4 separate regions of the Homo sapiens genome follow, and regions 2, 3 and 4 are each linked to region 1. Evidence: promoter capture Hi-C in 16 types of primary human blood cells and fetal thymus (Javierre and others, 2016). All regions are on one chromosome and are shown on one strand. Each heading gives the region's core, a stretch centred on a gene start or on the middle of the fragment in contact. The rest is flanking DNA. Distances are from core to core; before and after follow the strand shown.

Region 1 (5,588 bases), core at 1,035-3,534:
CTAACACTATTTTTGCAATTTTTCTATAGGTTTCAAATGATATGAAAATAAAACGTTAAATATTTTTTTTTTTTGAGACCGGGAGGCAGAGGATGCAGTTTCGCTCTTGTTGCCCAGGCTGGAGTATAATGGTGCAATCTTGGCTCACTGCAACCTCCGCCTCCCGGGTTCAAGCGATTCTCCTGCCTCAGCCTCCCGAGTAGCTGGGATTACAGGCATGCGTCACCATGTCTGGCTAATTTTGTATTTTTAGTAGAGATGGAGTTTCTCCATGATGGTCAGGCTGGTCTCAAACTCCCGACCTCAGGTGATCCGCCCACCTCGGCCTCCCAAAGTGCTGGGATTACAGGCGTGAGCCACCATGCCCGGCCAATATCAGGAAACATTTACCAAAAAAAAAATGAGATAACGATGAGATAAATTAGGATGAGCATGATATAACATGTAAGTTCACTAGCTATTTCCCTCTTGGCAGTGTTTCCAAATTTCCATAGTTAAACACATAAGGGAAAACACATTTTTTTAATCATAAAATTTTGTTTAAATGTTTATAAATAAATATGCAAATATGCCAAAGAAAGACCAAAAAGAAATGCACCGGGTGCGGTGGCTCACGCCTGTAATCCCAGCACTTTGGGAGGCCGAGGCTGGTGGATCATGAGGTCAGGAGATCAAGACCATCCTGGCTAACACGGTGAAACCTCATCTCTACTAAAACTACAAAAAAATTAGCCGGGCGTGGTGGCGGGCGCCTGTGGTCCCAGCTACTCACACAGGAGGCTGAGGCAGGAGAATGGCGTGAACCTGGGAGGCGGAGTTAGCAGTGAGCCGAGATCGTGCCACTGCACTCCAGCCTGGGCAACACAGTGAGACTCTGTCTCAAAAAAAAAAAAAAAATGCACTCGAAGTTTAACAGTTACTATCTTTACATGCTGGATTCATGGGTAATTATAAACTTGTACTACTCGTATTTCTCCAATTTCTGAACGCTCCACAATCATACCGCTGCATAACAAGTGAAATATTTGTAATAAATGAAATAGTTCTAATGAATGAAATAGTTGATAAACTCCCAGAACAGTCCAAGCCCATAAGCCTTGCTCTCAAGGCTCCCTTCAATCAAGTCCTAGCTTGCTTTCCCCACTAGATTCCAGCTAGTTCCTCTGCCTCAATGAGAATGTATCCAAAAGATTATCAACTAAGGCTCTGACCTGTAACGCCCAGGTTTCAACCGCAGCTCCACCTCTTACTGCTTAGGTGACTATTCTCAGATAACTCCTGCTCCTTTGTATCTCACTCATCTTTAAAACTGAAAAAAGTAGTACCTCTCCACAGAGCCACGGTGTGGCGAAAATGTGACTACTTGTATAAAGCTCTTGGGATAAAGTTACCAATTGAGGCTTAATTATTATCAACACCCATGCCTGAGGACACATCCTACACTCTTGGTCGGGGTGAGCATCTCTGTAAAAGAAAAAAAGCCAAGGACCACTCTCGTGGAACTTTGCCCTCAGTAGCCAAGAAGTCCCTCCCTGCAGCTCTTTTTGAGAATCAGGCTGGGGAAGGAGAAAGCTGTGAAACACCCTGACCGCATTGCCGTCCGGCATAAAAGTTAAATGTTCCTCTCCCTTCGTGGAAATGGAAACAACCCTCGCCTTCCTAAAAAGAGGTCAGAAGCGTCCGGGATCACCCAGCGTCCTGCAGGAATCAGAGACAAGGGCGGGGATCCCTGCAGATGGAGCTCTGACCCCACCCGGGGACCTGACAGGCTTCGTGGGAAATAAACACTAAGAAGAGACCACCAGTCACTAAGGGAGGGGCTGCTTTAAGGCTTTCATTTGTGTTACCTCTTCCAGTTCCCAAAACGATTTCATTAGGATGGTCCTAAAGTCCCCATTTTAAAGAACAGCAGTGGGAGGTACAGGGAGATTAATAACATCCCAACCCTAAATTGTGAGAAAGTAGCCTCACAGGTGGGATGGAGGGAGGCGGACTGAGCGAGCTGAGAGCCCCAAAAACCCTCAAACCAGGCGAGACGCGTCCCGACCAAGTCCCAACCCCCAGCCTCATGCCCGGGGACGCGAGGACAGCCCCAAGACCAAGAAGGCTCCGCTGACAAGAACGAAAAGAGAGGCCGTTGTCCCTCCAAACCTCCGTTTTCCAACGAGACTCCTTCTCCCCTTAGTCAACTTCCAGGTGGTTGCGAGCCAGCATCGTAAGGGGACACGTTTAGAAGGACCGACAAGACACAGGACTGACACCAAACTACCACCGAATGCACTGCAGCAACCTCGCCCCCCGGGAGCGGAAGTGCCCCTACCCCGCGCAGCGTGTGAACTACATTTCCCAGAATTCCCCGGATACGCCGTCCTGAGCCTACTTGCTCGTCATTCAACAGATCTCCTGCGCTACACTTCCTTGAATCTCAAAGGAGACGTTCTATAGTATCACCTTCCGGCGGGAAGCGTGGGACTCCGCGGTGCTCTTTGACTACACTTCCTGCAATGCCCACGAGGAATGAATCCCATAGACCCAAGCGCCTGGTTTGGAATATGGACTGTGGCCCTGAGAGTGGTCCTTCCCTCTCCCTGCGTCCTCGAGAGAAAATATTGAATAGACAGGAATTCCTGAAGTCTACACGCCTCCCATGATGACAGGAGTGTTACTGAAAGAGAACAAAGCAAGGAGATACAATCTTCAAGGAGTTAGCGGGGAGTGACTGTGGAGCGGTCAGGAGATGGCTGAAAGGCTAATATACTAGACGCTAATAGTATGAGGCTAAATCTAAGAGCTTAAATAATGGGCCAGGAAAAATGGTTTGGGAGAGGCATTGAGTGGGGCACCAGCCCCTGGTACAACCAGACACTGTTGTACCACTGGTTTGGCAAGAAAAACAACCACAGTTTAAGTGTTTAAGAGGGCTGTAAGAGTTAAAGAGAAAAAAAAAAAAAACACGAAAAGCGGCTCAACAGTCAAAGACAGGTTCGTTTTGGAGAATAAACCGAGAGGGCCTTCTGGCCGATTGCAGTCAGGAGCGCTCTCTCTTACGGACTAAGAGTATGTATTGGCTTTAGGGAGAGAGAGCTTACCACAGGCTTAGAATGTTTCTGTATTGGGGAGAAGTCTGTTGTGGGGTTGGAATATCTCTGGTTGGAGGGGAAGTTATCTTGGGACTGACATCTCTCCAATGGAAGGGAGGTTATCTCGGTGCTGGCATGTCTCTGGTCAGGGAGGGGTTTATCTTATGGTTGGAATGTTTCTGATTGGAGATGTCATTTGTGGTTTATGGTCATGCTGACCTTAGCCATTAGGCTGATGCCCTTTGGATTTAGGCAGTTTTTGATCAACGCGAACTTTAAAATGGCAGTGTTTGTCCAAGATGGCGATGCTCCTGCCCTGTCAAGGGCCAATATGGAGGGCCAATTGCCCTCCTGGAAAAGCTATCTTCCCACTTTTAAAGTTTTCATATTAATATTCTTTAGACGTGGAAATGCCACATTTAAGAGAAATTAAACTGCTTAGTATTGTGAAAGGAAAATATCTTGGGCCCCCAAAATCACTAAGGAAATCTCAAGCTGGAAATCGCTTAGGGCAAACCTGCCTCCCATTCTATTCAAAGTCACTCCTCTATCTGTCCTTGCTATCACGAGAACAGCATGGGAAAGACCCACTCCCATGATTCAATTACCTCCTACTAGGTCCCTTTCATGATATGTGGGAATTATGGGAGCTATAATTCAAGATGAGATTTGGGTGGAGACACAGCCAAACCGTATCAGTATGTGTAGATTTCTTATTTTCCATTATTACTTAAAAGAAAGCACGTTTCTAACTCTTCTATGGTCATGTAACAACATATCCTAGAAATCACTTCATGTACAGTACATTCTTTTTAGTGCTGCGTAAACTAGAAAATCCAGAAATAAATTTCTACACCTACAGTGAGCTCATTTTCAACAAAGGTGCTAAGTATATATATTGGGAAAAGGACAGTCTCTTCAATAAATGGTGCTAGAAAAACATGATATCCACATATAGAAGAATGAAACTTCAACCCTGTTGTTCACCATATACAAAAATAAAATCGAAATGGATTAAAGACTTAAATCTAAAACCTCGAACTATGAAACTACTACAAGAAAACATTGGGGAAATGTTCCAGGACATTGGTCTGGGCAAAGATTTCTTGAGTAATACCCCAAAAGCATAGACAACCAAAGCAAAAATGGACAAATGGGATCACGTCAAGTTAAGAAGCTTCTGCACAGCAAAGGAAGCAATCAACAAAGTGAAGAGACAACCCACACAATAGGAGAAAATATTTGCAAACTATCCATCTGACAAGGGATTAATAACCAGAATATAAGAAGCTCAAACCAAATAGGAAAAAATTTAATAAATCAATTTTAAAATGAGCAAAATATCTGAATAGACATTTCTCAAAAGAGGGCATACAAATGGCAAACAGGTATATGAAAAGGTGCTCTACATCATAGATCATCAGATAAATACAAATCAAAACTACCATGAGATATCCCACTCCAGTTAAAATAGCTTTTATTCAAAAGACAGGCAATATCAAATGTTGGTGAGGATGTGGAAGGAGTGAAGGAGGGAATCCTCGCACATTGTTGGTGGGAATGTAAATTAGTAGAACCACTGCGGAGAACAGTATGGAGGTTCCTCAAAAAATTAAAACTATATCAAAGTGATATCTGCACCCTCCCCTGCAATGTTTATTGCAGCACTATTCACAATAACCAAAATTTGGAAGCAACCTAAGTATGCATCAACAGGTGAATGGATACAGGAAATGGACATATACACAATGGAGTACTATTCAGCCACAAAAAGAATGAGATTTTGTTATTTGCAACAATATGGATGGAATTGGAAGGACATTACATTCAGTGAAATAAGTCAGGCACAGAAAGACAAACTTCACATCTTCTCACTTATTTGTAGGAGCTAAAAATTAAAACAATTGAATGCATGGAGACAGAGAGCAGAATGTTGGTTACCAGAGGGAGGGAAAGTTAAGGTTGGTGGTGAGGGAAGTGGGGATGGTTAGTGGGTACAAAACTATGCTTAGATAGAATGAATAAGATCTGGTATTTGATAGCACAACAGAGTTACAGTCAATAATAATTTATTGTACATTTGAAATAACTAAACGAGTACGGATTGTTTCTAACACACACAAAAATCTGATAAATGCTTGTGGTAACAGATACCCCATTTACCCTGATATGATTATTATGCATTGTATGCCTGTATCAACATATATACTCCATATGTGTACCCATAAAAATTAGGATTTTTTTTTTTTAGGCTGAGTGCAGTGGCTCATGCCTGTAATCCCAGCACTTTGGGAGGCTGAGGTGGGCAGATTACTTGAGTGCAGTAGTTCGAGACCAGCCTGGGCAACATGGAGGAACCTCATCTCTATAAAAAAATACAAAACTTAACCAGAGGCTGTGGTGCACGCCTGTAGTCTCAGCTGCTCAAGAGGCTGAGGTGGAAGGATGGTTTGAGCCCAGGAGGCCACCACATCCAGCTAGTTGTATTTTTAGTAAAGACAGACTTTC
Region 2 (5,588 bases), core at 1,433-3,932, 7.7 Mb after region 1:
TAGGATTGTTGCAAGGAGTAAGTAGTTAATACTTGGAGGAATCACAGTCATATAGCATGTATTCTGTAAATATTATCTGTAATTGTTATTATTGTCATTAGTATTAGTGAATTCACGTAAAAGGAAGATCTGTAGACATAATAAATGTAGAAATGCCTCCTGTCACCTCTCAGAAATTATTAAACATAATTTATTCTAGGTAAAATTTAGATTGTAGTGAATGTAGGAAGTTCTTCAGCACTTGAGCTGCATTAGAAATTTCATGCCAAAAATGAATTTCATGAATGTGAGGTCACTAGTAATACAGCTGTTGAAGAATTAGAGGGAAATAGGAAATGATTTTCCCATAATTCCAGAAAGCAAAAGGCTTACAATCCCTGTTGTCTGACCACAGTTTAAAATTAATTAGAAACTATCAAAAATGTGGCTTAAAAGAAATTAACCACCTAGGAATTTAATATTGTTGTGTATATTTATGTGTGTGTATAAAACTCCTGTGGGAAAGAAACAAAACATCATTCTATAAGTCAGTATACTTTTGGATGCTCAAAATGCCATATCTTCAACCAGTAGGAGTTGTTTCAAGTTGAGTTTTTGATGTGATCCCACCAATAATTTGATAGTTTACTTGATTGTGGCTGCATAATTTGGTAACCTATGAAAGATGCTAGAGCACCAATGTATAATTTTTTTGAGACAGGGTGTCACTTTGTCCCCCAGGCTGGAGTGCAGTGGTACAAGCACAGTTCACTGTACCCTGTTCCTCCTGGGCTCAAGTGATTCTTCCACCTAAATTTTTTTTTTTTTTTTAGAGAAAGGGTCTCACTATGTTGCCCAGGCTGGTCTTGAACTTCTGGGCTCAAGTGATCCTCCCTCCTTGGCCTCCAAAGGTGCTGGGGTTACAGGTATGAGCCACCACACCCAGCCCAACTCATTATTCTTGAAATCAATAAATCAGAGGAAAAATTGTCATTTAGTTTCCTTTTCCCATGTGAACCAAATTTCAGGGTCACCAGAAGTTCATCAAATTCAAATGAATTTGGCCTGGCACAGGGGTCACACCTGTAATCCCAGCACTTTGGGAGGACAAGGTGGGTGGATCACTTGAGGCCAGGAGTTTGAGACCAACCTGGTTAACATGGTGAAACCCTGTCTGTACTAAAAATACAAAATTTAGCCAGGCATGGTGGCACACACCTGTAGTCCCAGGCTGAGGTGGGAGGATCACTTGAACCCAAGAGGCAGAGTTTGCAGTGAGCTGAGATCGTGCCACTGCACTCCAGCCTGGGTGACAGAGTGAGACCCTGTCTCAAAAAAAAAATTTGTTTTTTGAATGGGTTTTTCTTTTTTGAAGAAGTCTAATAAATCTAGAAGGAATTAGAGGATTAGAAAAATCACCATTTTCTAGACCTTAATGGAATAATGGGTCCAGAAAACATGATCTTCAATGGGTACTACAACTAATAGGTGAAATATTTTATAGCGAGATTTTTATGGTGGATCTATCAAACTGGCCACCTCTGAACCCTTTGATCTGTTTTAACCTTAATAAAAATGGGTCTATCAGACAACACACTTCCTGACGTAATGCAATAGGAAGTCCACACCACCATCTACAAAGCCTTATTGCTGGAATAATGAACTGAAAGCAGACAGGGACTAGATGAACAGTATATGGTCATCCCTTGGTATCCATGGGGAATTGGTTCCAGGATCCTCCACTGATGGTAAAATCTGAGGATGCTCAAGTCCCTTGTATAAAATGGCATAGTATGTATTTGCATATTACCTACTCACATCTTCCTGTATACTTTAAATTATCTTTAGATCACTTATACCTATCACAATGTAAATACTATGTAAATAGTTGTTATACTGTATTTTTCAATTTGCATTATTTTTATTGTATTTTATTTTTATTGTTTTTTTTTGAGTATTTTCTATTTGAGATTGGTTGAATCTGCACATATGGAGGGCTGGCTATAAAGGGCACCACAAGGAAGAAGCCAAACAGATCCAGAATGTGTGAAATTCTACAGAGCAAATTACCTGATTTCTTCAACTAACAGGTAGCATGAAAATACAAGGGGAAGGGCAACCATTAACAGATTAAAAGAGACTTAAAGAGACATATCAACTAAATTCAGTATGTTGGCATTACTTGGACCTGGTTTGAACAAAACATAAAAAGCCATTTTGGAGACAGTGAGGGAAGTGTGGACATGGACTAAATATTAAATGATATTTACATATATTAATTTGGTTAGGGATTATGTCAGTGTGATTATAAAAAATAAAAGATCGTATGATATGAGATACATACTATGAAATGAAGATAGACACATTTGGATTAAAATATTCTAGCAAAAGAAATAATTGGCAAAGAGAGCTGGAAACTAAATTGGCAACATGTTGATAATTTAAGTGGAGTGTTTTGTTCATGGAGACTTATTGTTCTAATATTTCTACTTTTGTATGTGTTTGAAATTTCAATAATAAAATGTTTAAAATCAAAACCAAAATTATAGACTATGTAGAAATGAATGACAGTGAGATGCCTGCACATCTAACCTTGTCAGATATAATCAAAGTTCTGTTCAGTGACAAATTAATGCCCTGTAATGTGGTAAGGAAATCTTATTTGTGGATACAGTCTTCATCTTCTTCACTTACCCACAGCAGCAACACCAGGCCTGTCACACAGATGAATGTGTTGAGGGAATGAATAAGTATTTCCGTCAAGAAAAAGGAAACAACAAAATAAAACCAACCCAAGTAAAGAACAGCCAAGTGGCCAGGTGCGGTGGCTCATGCCTGTAATCCCAGCACTTTGGGAGGCCATGGCAGGTGGATCACCTGAGGTCGGGATTTTGAGACCAGCCTGACCAACACTGAGAAACCCCATCTCTATTAAAGATACAAAATTAGCCAGGCATGGTGGTGCATGCCTGTAATCCCAGCTACTTGGGAGGCTAAGGCAGGAGAATCACTTGAATCCAGGAGGCGGAGTTTGTGGTGAGTTGAGATCGCGCCACTGCACTCCAGCCTGGGTAACAGAGCAAGAGTCTGTCAAAAAAAAAAAAAAAAAAAAAGGAACAGCCAAGTAACAGTAGAAAGTAGAAATTAAGAGAATGGAGAATATTAGACTTGATTCAATGTTAATAGTGATTAGATTTTGGCAGTTATAATCAAGGAAGAGAAAATGAAAGATAATACATTTAGAGTATTAATGATGATAAAAGAGACACAACTCTAGATTATATCAAGCAGATTTTTAAAATTATAAGGCAAAACTAGGCCGGGCACAGTGGCTCACACCTGTAACCCCAGCACTTTGGGAGGCCGAGGTGGGTGGATCACTTGAAGTCAGGAGTTCGAGACCAGCCTGACCAACATAGCAAAACCCCATCTCTACTAAAAATACAAAAATTAGCCTGTCATGGTGGCGGGCACCTGTAATCTAAGCTACTGGGGAGCCTGAGGCAGGAGAATTGCTTGAACCCAGGAGGCAGAGGTTGCGGTGAACCAAGATCACGCCACTGCACTCCAGCCTGGGTGACAGAGTGAGAACCTGTCTCAAAAATAATAAACATAATATGGTAAAACTATACATGCACACATGCACAAACGTGTATATTCATTCCAGTACAAGTAAAAATGTAGGATTGCATTTTTCCCCCAAAAGGAATATGTTTTACAATTAACTCACCGTATAACCCAAATAGATTAACAAAAAATGTGTGTGTGTGTGTGTGTGTGTGAACTCCCTGTTTAAAAAATCTGATACTTATAAAAACTTTAAGGAATAGATAATCCTAAAGATTTTACCAATTAATTCTGCAAGGTAAAATAATCCTAATAAAAATTAGATGAAGATAGTTTCTGAAAGCAAATTCTAGACCACCTTCATTATGAAGATTCTATTTTTCACAATTCTAAATAAAGTTTATTTAGAATTTATTACAAAATCTATCTTTGCTAATAGGTCAGTGTTTCTTTTCCCAAGCACCAAATACCTCCAGAAAGCCTGTGTTTGACCCCTAAATTCAACATTCTCCAGAAGTTTGCTTCAAGGAATATTAATTCTCGATGGTATTTGAAAAAAAGATTTCTTGGGAAAATAGGCAAATGAAGCAAAACATAAAACATCTACTTTTGGCCAGGCACGGTGGCTCACGCCTGTAATCCCAACATTTTGGGAGGCCAAGGCGAGCAGATCACTTGAGGTCAGGAGTTTGAGACCAGCCTGGCCAACATGGTGAAACCCTGTCTCTACTAAAAATACAAAATTAGCTGGGCGTGGTGGCTTGCACCTGTAATCCCAGCTACTTGGGAGGCTGAGGCAGGAGAATTGCTTGAACCCAGGAAATGGAGATTGCAGTGAGCTGAGATTTTGCCATTGCACTCCAACCTGGGCAACAAGAGTGAAACTCAGTCTCAAATAAAATAAAATAAAAATCTACTTTTGAGGAATTCAAAGTATACATGATCAGTTTGCCAAAGATTTAGTAAAGACATTTTTATTTAACTGAGTGTATCTCAAATTTATTGTGGAATTCTCAGTCCGAATATCTGGAATAGGAACAGCTTTGTTAGATGCTACCATAACCACAATGAATGTCTTCAAGGGTGTAATTTTAGATATGGTGAGTGGTTGTGTTGGGGGCGGCATAAGTCAGGGCAATTTTTTGCAGCTCATATCATGCTCTGAAAGTAGCTACCTGCTTTAATGGATGGTTAGTGCTTTTCTATAGAATGGAAAAGATTCCAGCCCGATCCTTGATATGTTTGTGTTAAACATGCTTATATATTATATTAAACAATGATTAAGGACATAAATGAGTTTCTGTGGTAATAAAGATGCTATATTGAATATCATTTTGTGTATTTTTTAATTTCCTTAAAGAGTCAAGAATCTAAGGTATTACCTAGAAATGAAATTGTTCGTTATAGGCTGTATACACTTTCAGCTTCACTGCTTATTGCCAAATTGTGGCTCCACCATTGTTCCAGTTTTGAATCCCTTTGATCATTGAATATCAGTGTTCATATTTCCCTACCTCTGCTATAAGTTTCAATATTTATTACACTGGGCCAGGCACGGTGGCTCACACCTATAATCCCAGCACTTTGGAAGGCCAAGGCAGGAGGATTGCTTGAGCCCAGAAGTACGAGACCAGGCTGGGCAACATGGCAAAACTCCATTTCTACAGAAAATACAAAAATTGGTTGGGTGCGGTGGCATGTGCCTGTGGTCTCAGCTACTTGGGAGGCGGAGGTGGACGGATCACTTGAGTCTGGGAAGTCAAGGCTGCAGTAAGCTGTGATCATGCCACTGCACTCCAGCCTGAGTGTTGGAGTGAGACCCGGTTTCAAAAAAAAAAAAAATTATTACCTTGATTACAAGTGAGTCAAGCATCTGTTCATATGCGTTTATTGGCCAATCGTGTTTACTGTGCTTTTTAATGATGCCTTTGCTGTATTTTTTTTTGCATTCTCATTTATTGATTTTTCAGGATTCTTAAAATAGTTTAGTATCGGTCGGGTGCGGTGGCTCACGCCTGTAATCCCAGCACTTTGAGAGGCCA
Region 3 (5,588 bases), core at 1,432-3,931, 7.4 Mb after region 1:
AGACCTTTACGCCAATTGGAAGGGGGATGTCAAGGTTACACTGAAGAAGAATATTTGGGATGCAAGATACAGCAGTGTCCATCTATGGAAAATATAGTCTGCACCAGATGTGTACTAAAGAATTTGCAGGAAAACTAAAAATGCCTATGGCATGATAGTCATAATCATGAATAAAAATCTTCAAGTTCTTTTTCTCAAGATAGAGATTTTAATAAGACATTTTGGAAAGATTTAAAAGTTTTTGACTATTTAATTTAATTGGGAGCCTCTACTTATTTTCTTAGTTTTGAGATGACTGATTAACAGGAGTTTCCCACCTACACAAGAAGATGTGTCTGCAGAAAATGAATTGTTTAAGAACATATGGGCACTCCGCTTCAGTCACACTAAATTCCTCTTTGACCCATGTCCCAGGCTTAGCCTATATATTCAGTAGACTGTCTCCTTCCTTGCAGTACCTTCTTTTAGCACTTCTCTTTTCTTTTTAAAAACATTTCTTATAATTTCAAAAATAGTACTATTATTTGTCATTTTAGGAGTTGGTGATGTTCAGAGATGTGGCTATAGATGTCTCTCAGGAGGAATGGGAATGCCTGAACCCAGCGCAGAGGAATTTGTACAAGGAGGTGATGTTGGAGAATTATAGCAACTTGGTGTCACTTGGTAAAGTTATCTAAAAATTAAGAACCTGACAATTCAGAATTCCGCTAACAATTCACAATCTACTTCTTGGAATTTCTGCTTTCCCCCCTATTAATTTAGGGCTAGCTTTCAAATAACTGGATGAATTTTCTCTTTATGTATTGTAGAAACCAGCACAGCTAAATGGAGGTACATTTTCATTTTCCCCATCCTTACACGTTCTTTTGGTCCTTTCTTATAATAACTCCTCCTTGATGTTTAAGGGGCAGAATTGGAAATCTGCAATGTTAAAGCATAACACTGTCAAAGAAAGCAGACTCTGTCTTTTGTTTCACTTCCACTGTGCTAAATCTGCTAGTGTACTAGCATAAGATTAAAACTAGACACATGGGTTCCAGGAGTGAAGCTTTTTTCTTTCCTGGGTAATAGAGTGATAGGCTGGAGTAATAAAGGTTCATTTACTATTCTCAAATGAGCACCACTCCATTTCCTATAATAAATGTAATCTTTCACTTTTTATTTTATTTATTTATTTATTTTTGAGACGGAGTTTCGTTCTTATTGCCCAGGCTAGAGTGCAATGGCGTGATCTCGGCTCACCACAACCTCTGCCTCCCAGCTTCAAGCAATTCTCCTGCCTCAGCCTCCCGAGTAGCTGTGATTACAGGCATGTGCCAACACGCCTGGCTAGTTTTGTATTTTTAGTAGAGATGTGTTTTTTCCATGTTGGTCAGGCTGGTCTCAAACTCCCGACCTCAGGTGATCCACCTGCTTCGGCCTCCCAAAGTGCTGGGATTACAGGCATGAGCCACCGCACCTGGCCTTTTTAATTTTTTTTTGAGACAGAGTTTCACTTTTGTTGCCCAGGCTAGAGTGCAATGGCATATCTTGGCTCACTGCAACCTCTGCCTCCCAGGTTCAAGCAATTCTCCTGCCTCAGCCTCCTGAGTAGCTGGGATTACAGGTGCCCGCCACCACGCCCAGCTAATTTTTGTATTTTTAGTAGAGACAGGGTTTCACCATGTTGGCCAGGCTGGTCTCGAATTCCTGATCTCAAGTGATCCACCCGTCTTGGCCTCCCAAAATGCTGGGATTACAGGTGTGAGCCACCGCGCCTGACCTGTACTCTCTTTTAAGTGATTTGCCTTTGGAAGTTATTTTTAAAGAACTTTGTACAGTTAACATTAAAAAAAAAAAGGAGGCTGGGTGCTGTGGCTCATGCCTGTAATCCCAGCACTTTGGGACGCTGAGGCAAGTGGATCACCTGAGGCCAGGAGTTTGAGACCAGCCTGGCCAATATGGGCCAAACCCCGTTTCTACTAAAATACAAAAATTAGCCAGGCAGAGTGGTGTGCGCCTATAATCCCAGCTACTTAGGAGGCTGAGGCAGGAGAGTCACTTGAACCCGTGAAGTGGAGGTTGCAGTCAGCCAAGATTGTGCCATTGCACTCCAGCCTGGACAACAAGAGCAAAACTCCATCTCAAAAAAAAAAAAAAGAATAAATATCTCAAGAAGCTTCTTTTTTTTCCTCACAGCAAAAAAGAGAAACCTTACATAAATTTAAGTACTATTTTATCGCCTGTTTGTTTGCTTTGTTTGTTATGATCCTGTGTTCATCTGAATATGAGTGTTTCATCTCTTCTCCTTTATTTCCTCTGTATCCCTTATCAAGTACCATTTTTATCTGTGATTTATTTTTATTTTAATCAGTTCTAAATCACTGTATTTGGATACATTCATTTCCATCTCATCTCAATTTCTTTTCTTATAACTAGGACTTTCTGTTTCTAAGCCAGCCGTAATCTCCTCATTGGAGCAAGGGAAGGAGCCCTGGATGGTTGTGAGGGAAGAGACAGGAAGATGGTGCCCAGGTGAGTGAGCAAGCACAGGAAGCTCTTGCAGAGAGCAGGCCAGCTGGTCAGAATGTTGGGCTGGCAAGTTTATTTTAAACCAAACTTTGGGAAAACCTGATTTCAAAACATATTACAAAGATATAGTAATCAAACAGTGTGGTACTGGCATAAAGATATTCTAGGCCGGGCGCGGTGGCTCACGCCTGTAATCCCAGCACTTTGGGAGGCCGAGGCGGGCAGATCACGAGGTCAGGAGATCGAGACCACGGTGAAACCCCGTCTCTACTAAAAATACAAAAAATTAGCCGGGCGCAGTGGTGGGCGCCTGTAGTCCCAGCTACTCGGGAGGCTGAGGCAGGAGAATGGTGTGAACCCGGAAGGCGGAGCTTGCAGTGAGCGGAGATCGCGCCACAGCACTCCCGCCTGGGCGACAGAACGAGACTCCGTCTCAAAAAAAAAAAAAAAAAAAGATATTCTAAAGGAATAGAATAGAAAGCCCAGAAATAAACCCTTGCATAAATAGTCAAATTATTTTAGACAAGGGTGCCAACACTTCCATGGAGAAAATTGGATTATCCACAGGCAAAGGAATACAGTTGTACCCTTGTCTTACACCATATAGAAAAATTAACTCAGAATGGATCAAAGACCTAAATGTGAGAGCTAAAGCAATAAAACTCTAAGTAGAAAATATTGGAGAAAAGCTTCATGACATTGGATTTGGCAATGATTTATTGTGTATAATACCAAAAGCACTGGCAACAAAAGCAAAAACAGACAAATGGGACTACATCAAACCTAAAAACTTCTGTACATCAAAGGACACAATCTATAGTGTTTATTAATTTTTGTTTGTTTGTTTTGAGACAGGGTTTCACTCTGTCACTCAGGCTGGATGGAGTACAGTGGTGCAAACTCAGCTCACTGCAACCTCTGCCTCCCTGGCTCAAGCAATCCTCTCACCTAAGTTTCCTGAGTAGCTGGAACTACAGGCCCATGCCACCATGCATGGCTAATTTTTTAATTTTTTGCAGAGATGAGGTCTCACTGTATTGCCCAGGCTGGTCTCGACCTCCTTAAGCAATCCTCCCACCTCAGCCTCTGAAAGTGCTAGGATTACAGGCATACACCACTGTGCCCAGCCTGCTTATTAGTTTTTTAAAAGATTCAGGCTGGGCTCAGTGGCTCACACCTGTAATCTCAGCACTTTGGGAGGCTCAGGTGGGAGGATTACTTGAGCTTAGGAGTTTGTGACCAGTCTGGGCAACATAGCAAAAGCCCTGTCTTTACAAAAAATTAAAAATTAAAATATTCACCAGGCATGGTGGTACATGCCTGTAGTCCCAGATGTTCAGCAGACTGAGGTGGGAGATCACTTGAGCCCAGGAGTTTGAGGCTACAGTGAGCCAAGATTGTACCACTTTACTCCAGTCTAGGTGACACTGCAAGATGCTGTCTCTAAATAAATAGATAAAAGATCCATACAAGTTGCTTTGCTAGGTGATGGGAATACATTTTTAAAGTGTTATAGAGACGTTTTCAATCTAACAGGGGATCAACAATACATGGATGGATGTTCTAATAGAATCACTAGGCAAAAAAATAGTGTTGATCAGAAATTAGGAAAGTTAGAGAAAGTAATATATGACTATATTGAGGAGGTAGAGATGGCAGAGGGATGATTGAGAAGGAAGGAGATCAACCAGGAAAGTTTGGGGTGCTATAGACCAAGGGCAGATCCATTCTACAGGCTAGAGTTCTTTGATGATGTCTGTGATTCATTGAAGTGCTATAGGCTGAACATGGTGGCTCATGCCTGTAATCCCAGCACTTTGGGTGGCCAAGGTGGAAGGATTGCTTGAGCCTAGGAGTTTGAGACCAGTCTGGGCAATATAGTGAGACCCTGTCTGTACCAAAAAGAAAAAAAAAAATTAGCCTAGCATGGTGGCATGCTACCTGTAGTCCCATCTACTCAAGGGGCTGAGTTGGGAGTATTGCTTGAGCCTGGGAGGTCAAGGCTGCAGAGAGCCATGATTCTGCCATTGCACTCTAGTCTGGGTAACAGAGCAAGACCCTGTCTCAATCAATCAATCAATCAAGTGCTACAGAACTGTGAGAGAATACATTTGTGTTGTTTTAAGCCACCCAGTTTGTGGGACTTTGTTAATGGCAGCCCTAGGAAACTAATAGAGAGGAATCATGGAAAAATGGTACATATTCTCATACATATTTTAATGTAAAGATAACATTCCTTTACCAGTTTTTTTATACCTGGGTAGGCCTTTTCCTTGGCATGAATTTTCTTTAAAAAAAGACTTTTTATTTTGAAATAATTATGGATTCACAAGAGGTTGCAAAGAAATGTACAGGGGAGTCCTGTGTACCCCCTTTGCAGCTTCCCCCAGGGTTAATACCTTACCCAACTATAGTACAATACCATACCAAAAAATTGACATTGCTGCAATTCATAGAACTTACTCAGATTTCACCAGTTATACATGCACTCATTTCTGTGTGTATATTTATAGCTCTATGCAGTTTTATCACATGTAGCCTTGTGTCACCACCACAATAGCCAAAATACTCAACAATACCTCACAAGACTCCCTTGTGTTAGCTATACTTATCCCATTTCTCTTTTTCCTAACCCTTGTGATATTGTTTGGCTGTGTCCCTTCCCAAATCTCATCTTGAATTGTAGGCTGCCATAATTCCCACGTGTTGTGGGAGGGACCAGGTGGGAAATAATTGAATCATGGGGGCACTTTCCCCCATACTGTTCTCGTGGTAGTGAATAAGTGTCACAAGATCTGATGGTTTTATAAGGGGTTTCCCCTTTCGCTTGGCTCTCATTCTCTCCTGTCTGCTGTCATGTAAGATGTGCCTTTGCTCTTCCTTTGCCTTCTGCCATGATTGTGAGGCCTCCCCAGCCACATGGAACTGTGAGTCCATTAAACCATTTTCTTTATAAATTACCCAGTCCTGGGTATGTCTTTATCAGCAGCATGAGAGCAGACTAATACACCTTGGCAACCACTGTTCTGTTCTCTGTATAATTATGTAATTTCATAAATGTTACATAAATAGAATCC
Region 4 (5,588 bases), core at 1,563-4,062, 7.3 Mb after region 1:
AAATATATACATTAGAAAAAAGAGTCACAGAGGAGTACTTATTCTTAGCTTGTGCCAGACTCCTTCTCCCTTGAAAAAATTTCTCAAACTATTTTTTTGTTGTTGTTAAGACAGGGTCAGTGGGGGGAGGGGGGAGGGATAGCATTAGGAGATACACCTAATGCTAAATGACGAGTTAATGGGTGCAGCACACCAGCATGGCACATGTATACATATGTAACTAACTGGCACATTGTGCACATGTACCCTAAAACTCAAAGTATTAAAAAAAAAAAAAAAAAAAAGACAGGGTCTCACTCTGTCACCCATGCTGGAGTGTGGTAGTGTGATCATGGCTCCCTGCAGCCTCATCTCCTAGGCTCAGGTGATGCTGCCACCTCAGCCTTCCAGGTAGCTAGGACCACAGGCATGCACCACCACTCCTGGCTAATTTTTTATAGAGATGGGTTTTTGCCATGTTGCCTAGGCTGGTCTCAAACTTCTGGGCTCAAGCAATCCATCTGCCTCAGCCTTTCCAAGTGCTGGGATTAAAGGTGTGAATCACTGTACCTGGCCTTCAAACTATTTTTCTGTCTGAACTATCACCCATAATTATCTCCTTTAACCTAAATGCAGCATACCCTGCTATTGAGATCCTAGTACTTTGGTAACTCTGGATCAGATTACTTCCCTCATATTAGACTGATATTCTGCTATTTCCCAGCATTCCTATTTTTAAGCTCTGAATTATATAAGACATTCATCATAGTACTTGGAAACTTGTAGGTATTTTATGACTTATTATTCTGTTATTGAGGTGATACCTGGATAATCATTTTTTATTGAGCTCCTCAGATGAATATGATCAAAATAAAACATATTTCTCATCACTTGACTCAACTTTTATTTCTTTTAAATTTCTACTTATTTCTTGCCCTTTTTTTCATATTGCTCATATTTGAGAATTTTCTAAGCCATTCACTTCTCATATGCTTTACTTCAAGATTTTCTATATCTATTTTAGAAGTTGTATTGCTTTTTGTACATACAACCGTATGATGTTTTTACCTTCTTATTTTTCAGACATGCAGTCGAGGTGTCAGACCAAGAAGTTATTACCAAAAAATGGCATTTTTGAGAGAGAAATAGCCCAATTGGAAATAATGAGAATTTGTAAAAACCACAGCCTTGACTGTTTATGTTTTAGAGGTGACTGGGAAGGCAACACTCAGTTTCAAACACTTCAAGATAATCAAGAGGAATGCTTCAAGCAGGTGATACGCACCTGTGAAAAAAGGCCCACTTTTAACCAGCATACAGTGTTTAATCTACACCAGAGACTTAATACAGGAGACAAACTGAATGAATTTAAAGAACTGGGGAAAGCCTTTATTTCTGGTTCAGATCATACTCAACATCAGTTAATTCACACAAGTGAGAAATTCTGTGGAGATAAAGAATGTGGGAATACCTTTCTTCCTGATTCAGAAGTTATTCAATATCAGACAGTTCACACTGTTAAGAAAACATATGAATGTAAAGAATGTGGGAAGTCTTTTAGTTTACGTTCGAGTCTTACTGGTCATAAGAGAATTCATACCGGTGAGAAACCTTTTAAATGTAAGGATTGTGGGAAAGCCTTTAGATTTCATTCACAACTTAGTGTCCATAAGCGAATTCATACTGGTGAGAAATCTTATGAATGTAAGGAATGTGGGAAGGCCTTTAGTTGTGGCTCAGATCTTACTCGACATCAGAGAATTCATACTGGTGAAAAACCCTATGAATGTAATGAATGTAGAAAGGCCTTTAGTCAGCGATCACATCTTATTAAACATCAGAGAATTCACACTGGTGAAAAACCTTATGAATGTAAGGAGTGTGGGAAAGCTTTTACTCGTGGATCACACCTAACTCAGCATCAGAGAATTCATACTGGTGAGAAATCTCATGAGTGTAAGGAATGTGGAAAAGCCTTTATTCGTGGTTCAAATCTTGCTCAACATCAGAATGTTCATGTTGGTAGGAAACCTTATAAATGTGAGAAATGTGGGAAAGCCTATATTTGGAGCTCACACCTTGCTCGACATCAGCGAATTCATACTGGCAGGAAACCTTATGAATGTAAGCAATGCGGGAAGACTTTTACTTGGGCTTCGTATCTTGCTCAACATGAGAAAATTCACAATGAGAGGAAATCCTATGAATGTAAGGAATGTGGAAAGACCTTTCTTCATGGCTCAGAGTTTAATCGACATCAGAAAATTCATACTGGTGAGAGAAACTATGAATGTAAGGAATGTGGAAAGACCTTTTTTCGTGGTTCAGAACTTAATCGACACCAGAAAATTCATACTGGAAAGAGGCCATATGAATGTGAAGAATGTGGAAAAGCCTTTCTCTGGGGTTCACAACTTACTCGACATCAGAGAATGCATACTGGTGAGGAACCTTACGTATGTAAAGAATGTGGGAAATCTTTTATCTGGGGTTCACAGCTTACACGACATAAGAAAATTCATACTGATGCAGAACCTTATGGATGCAAGAAAAGTAGCCACATCTTTAGTCACCATTCATATTTTACTGAACAAAAAATTCATAATAGTGCAAATCTCTGTGAATGGACAGACTATGGGAACACCTTTAGTCATGAGTCAAACTTTGCTCAACACCAGAATATTTACACTTTTGAGAAATCCTATGAATTTAAAGATTTTGAGAAAGCATTTTCTTCAAGCTCTCACTTCATTTCACTCTTGTGAAATATTATATAAAAGTGTAGGAAGGGCTTTATTCATGACTCATTAATTGATGTCATTTATTTTTTTCTCTTGAGGAACACCACAAATGTAAGTAATATTGGAAGGCATTTTAACAGAGCACACATCCAGCAGCAGCAGCAGCAGCAGCAGCAGAGAATTCATCATGCAATCAATATAGGAAAGAAATTACTGATCAGTTATCAATTGCAGAATATCAGGGTAAAATTTTATGAGATAGCATGAATTCTTTTTGAATCATTCTCAAAACATTCTCATCAGAGATGTTGCATAAAGAATTTATATATAATTTGGCCAAGCATGGTGGCTCACACCTGTTATCCTAGCACTTTGGGAAACAGAGGTGGGTGGATCACCTGAGGTCAGGGGTTCGAGACCAGCCTGACCAACATGGTGAAACCCTGTCTCTACTAAATATACAAAAATTAGCCGGGCGTGGTAGCACACGCCTGTAGTCCCAGCTACTCGGGAGGCCGAGGCATGAGAATTCCTTGAACCTGGGAGGTGGAGGTTGCAGTGAGCCAAGATCACATCACTGCACTCCAGCCTGGGTGATAGAACAAGACTCCATCTCAAAAACAAAAACCCACAAGAATTTATATATAATTCATTTTGGAAATCTTTCATCATTAGCAAAATTCTGTTGTATTTCCACAAAAATCATGTAATTAATCTAGAAAAGCCTTGAACTATGTCATACAATTTATTTGGCATGTCTTGTTTCAATACATCCTGCCTCTATTTTTTTTTTTTGGAAAGTATCTTAAATCTATGTCTGTTTAATCGTATTCATTAGATTATAAGGGTTGAATGATTTGAGATTTACATGACTTAGTGACTGTCATTTGTATTGGTATTAAGCCATTTTATGAGAGGAGGACTTTTAAGACTATAATGATTATAGACAAATATGTCATCTCTATTTATGTCTTACTGAACATCAGAATGTTAATTCTGAAAAAAAATCAGTAAAATACAATGAAGAAAGCTTTGAATATTAATTTCACATGCTACATCAAAAAAACCTATAAAAGAAAGCCTTATGACTTTAGTAAAAGTGGGGTTGTTGAGTGTTCAGCAGTTTTTTAAAAGACATTCAGAAATAACTTCTCTCTAACAAATTTCTAAAGCCAAGTGTTATATAATTCTTTACCACAGTTATAACTCAGAAACTAGCAAATGGATAGCCATATGGATTCTTACCTCTTTGAAATTTACTACTATATATAAACCATTCTTAGATTAAAGAGCAAATAAAAAGTGAAATTACAGAGTATTTAGAATGATAATGAGACCTATATTTTAAATCCTGTGAAATAACTAAAACAGTTATCAATAGAAATTGCTCTGTGTATAAAACCAAGAAGACTGAGGGCAGTTTGTTTCTCTTCATCACTGTATCCACAGCACTGTATCCACAGCACTTAGGACAGTGCCTATAATGTTGTAGGGCCTCAAATATTTATTGAGTTAAATAATGATTACACAGCAAGGTAGAATAAGAACAAATACCCCAAATGAATGAATGGAAAGGCTTAATGAAAAGCTGAAATCATGGAATAAAAAACCATACAGGTTTTTCATCAAAATCTAGTCCTTTGAAGAAAACTATTATTCATTAGACTTTGTCAGTGCCTCTACTATATTATAAGGAGAAATGGAATATAACTATATGTTTGGAGATATTTTTTAGTATTAAGTATGTGAACTCTGTTAGACATGATTTTTATATGTGTACGGTTTTTTTCTAGGAAAACATTATTAAATATGATTAAGTTTCAAAAACAACCCAAAAAGTTCAAAAAATAGAAAAAAGTATCATGTAAGATGAGGTTGAGCACAGTGGCTCATGCCTGTAATCCAAACACTCTGGGAGGTTGAGACAGGAGTATCACTTGAACCAGGAGTTCCAGACTTGCCTGGACAACATAGGGAGACCCCCATCTCTGCAAAAAATAAATTAGCCAGGTGTGGTGGCACATGCCTCTGGTCCCAGCTACTCAGGAGGCTGAGGTGAGAGGACTGCTTGGGCCCAGGAGTTTGAGGCTGCAGTAAGCTGTGATCACCCCACTGCACTGCAGTCGGTGATGGAGCAAGACCCTGTCTAAAACAAAACAAAACAAACATGTAAGACTAGAAAACTGTACAGGCTACACCCTGAAGAATAGAAAATCCTATGGAAAATTTGCCAGGGCATGCTAAAAGACTAACATTTTTATAATAAAAGTAGATGGGATAGCTCTTGAACATCAAATTCCAGAAAAATTTCACTCATGAAGATACATGAAAAAAACTTACATAGATGAACCCAATATTTAATCAAAGAATAATATAGTAGATATTTGCTTATAATGTTTAAGCTCTGAGCAGGATGGATAATTTTTATTTTTGAGGTGGAGTCTCACTCTAGTTGCCCAGGCTGGAGTGCAGTGGGGTGATCTTGGCTCATTACAATCTCTGCCTGCCAGGTTCAAATGATTCTCCTGCATCAGCCTCCCGAGTACCTGGGATTACAGGCACCCTCCACCATGCCTGGCTAATTTTTGTATTTTCAATAGAGATGGGGTTTCACCATGTTGGCCAGGCTGGTCTCGAGCTCCCGACCTCAGGTGATCCGCCCACCTCAGCCTCCCAAAGTGCCAGGATTACAGGTGTGAGCCACCGTGACCAGCCTGGATGGGTAATTCTGAATGATGAAAAGTTACTTTATCAATTTCTTCTAAGTGAAGTTCTTGGTATCTTTTAGTGTTACATGAGTTAAGAAATGGTGACTATATGTACACATATTTAGCACATTTTGTAAGTCACACCTTTAACAGGTAGTTC

Evidence for each region. Contacts are between HindIII fragments. The CHiCAGO score rates a contact against its expected background, and 5 or more counts as called.
Region 2: a fragment that was not itself captured here is called in contact with the fragment with the promoter of ZNF284 in region 1 in 1 of 17 cell types (total CD4 T cells); the score reaches 5.0 in total CD4 T cells.
Region 3: a fragment that was not itself captured here is called in contact with the fragment with the promoter of ZNF284 in region 1 in 1 of 17 cell types (non-activated CD4 T cells); the score reaches 5.3 in non-activated CD4 T cells.
Region 4: a contact is called between a fragment that was not itself captured here and the fragment with the promoter of ZNF284 in region 1, in 1 of 17 cell types (non-activated CD4 T cells). The highest score is 8.6, in non-activated CD4 T cells.

What each region holds. Positions count from the first base shown.
Region 1 is chr19:44,068,855-44,074,442 of GRCh38, reverse strand. ZNF284 (zinc finger protein 284) reads right to left here and starts at 2,284. Exons shown (of 5, transcript NM_001037813.4): 1 at 2,152-2,284. The HindIII fragment of the contact is 12,821 bases long and covers 1-4,259 here.
Region 2 is chr19:36,333,743-36,339,330 of GRCh38, reverse strand. ZFP14 (ZFP14 zinc finger protein) reads left to right here. Exons shown (of 5, transcript NM_020917.3): 5 at 1-4,878. Among named protein-coding and RNA genes, the nearest start is that of LINC00665, 4.8 kb to the right of the region's middle. The HindIII fragment of the contact is 6,588 bases long and covers 1-5,588 here.
Region 3 is chr19:36,653,374-36,658,961 of GRCh38, reverse strand. It overlaps ZNF461 (zinc finger protein 461), which reads left to right. Exons shown (of 6, transcript NM_153257.5): 3 at 537-663; 4 at 2,419-2,514. Among named protein-coding and RNA genes, the nearest start is that of ZNF461, 11 kb to the left of the region's middle. The HindIII fragment of the contact is 1,042 bases long and covers 2,161-3,202 here.
Region 4 is chr19:36,815,589-36,821,176 of GRCh38, reverse strand. It overlaps ZNF790 (zinc finger protein 790), which reads left to right. Exons shown (of 5, transcript NM_206894.4): 5 at 1,063-3,749. The coding sequence ends at 2,744. All of the region lies in intron 3 of ZNF790-AS1 (ZNF790 antisense RNA 1), which reads right to left. Among named protein-coding and RNA genes, the nearest start is that of ZNF790, 20 kb to the left of the region's middle. The HindIII fragment of the contact is 1,881 bases long and covers 1,872-3,752 here.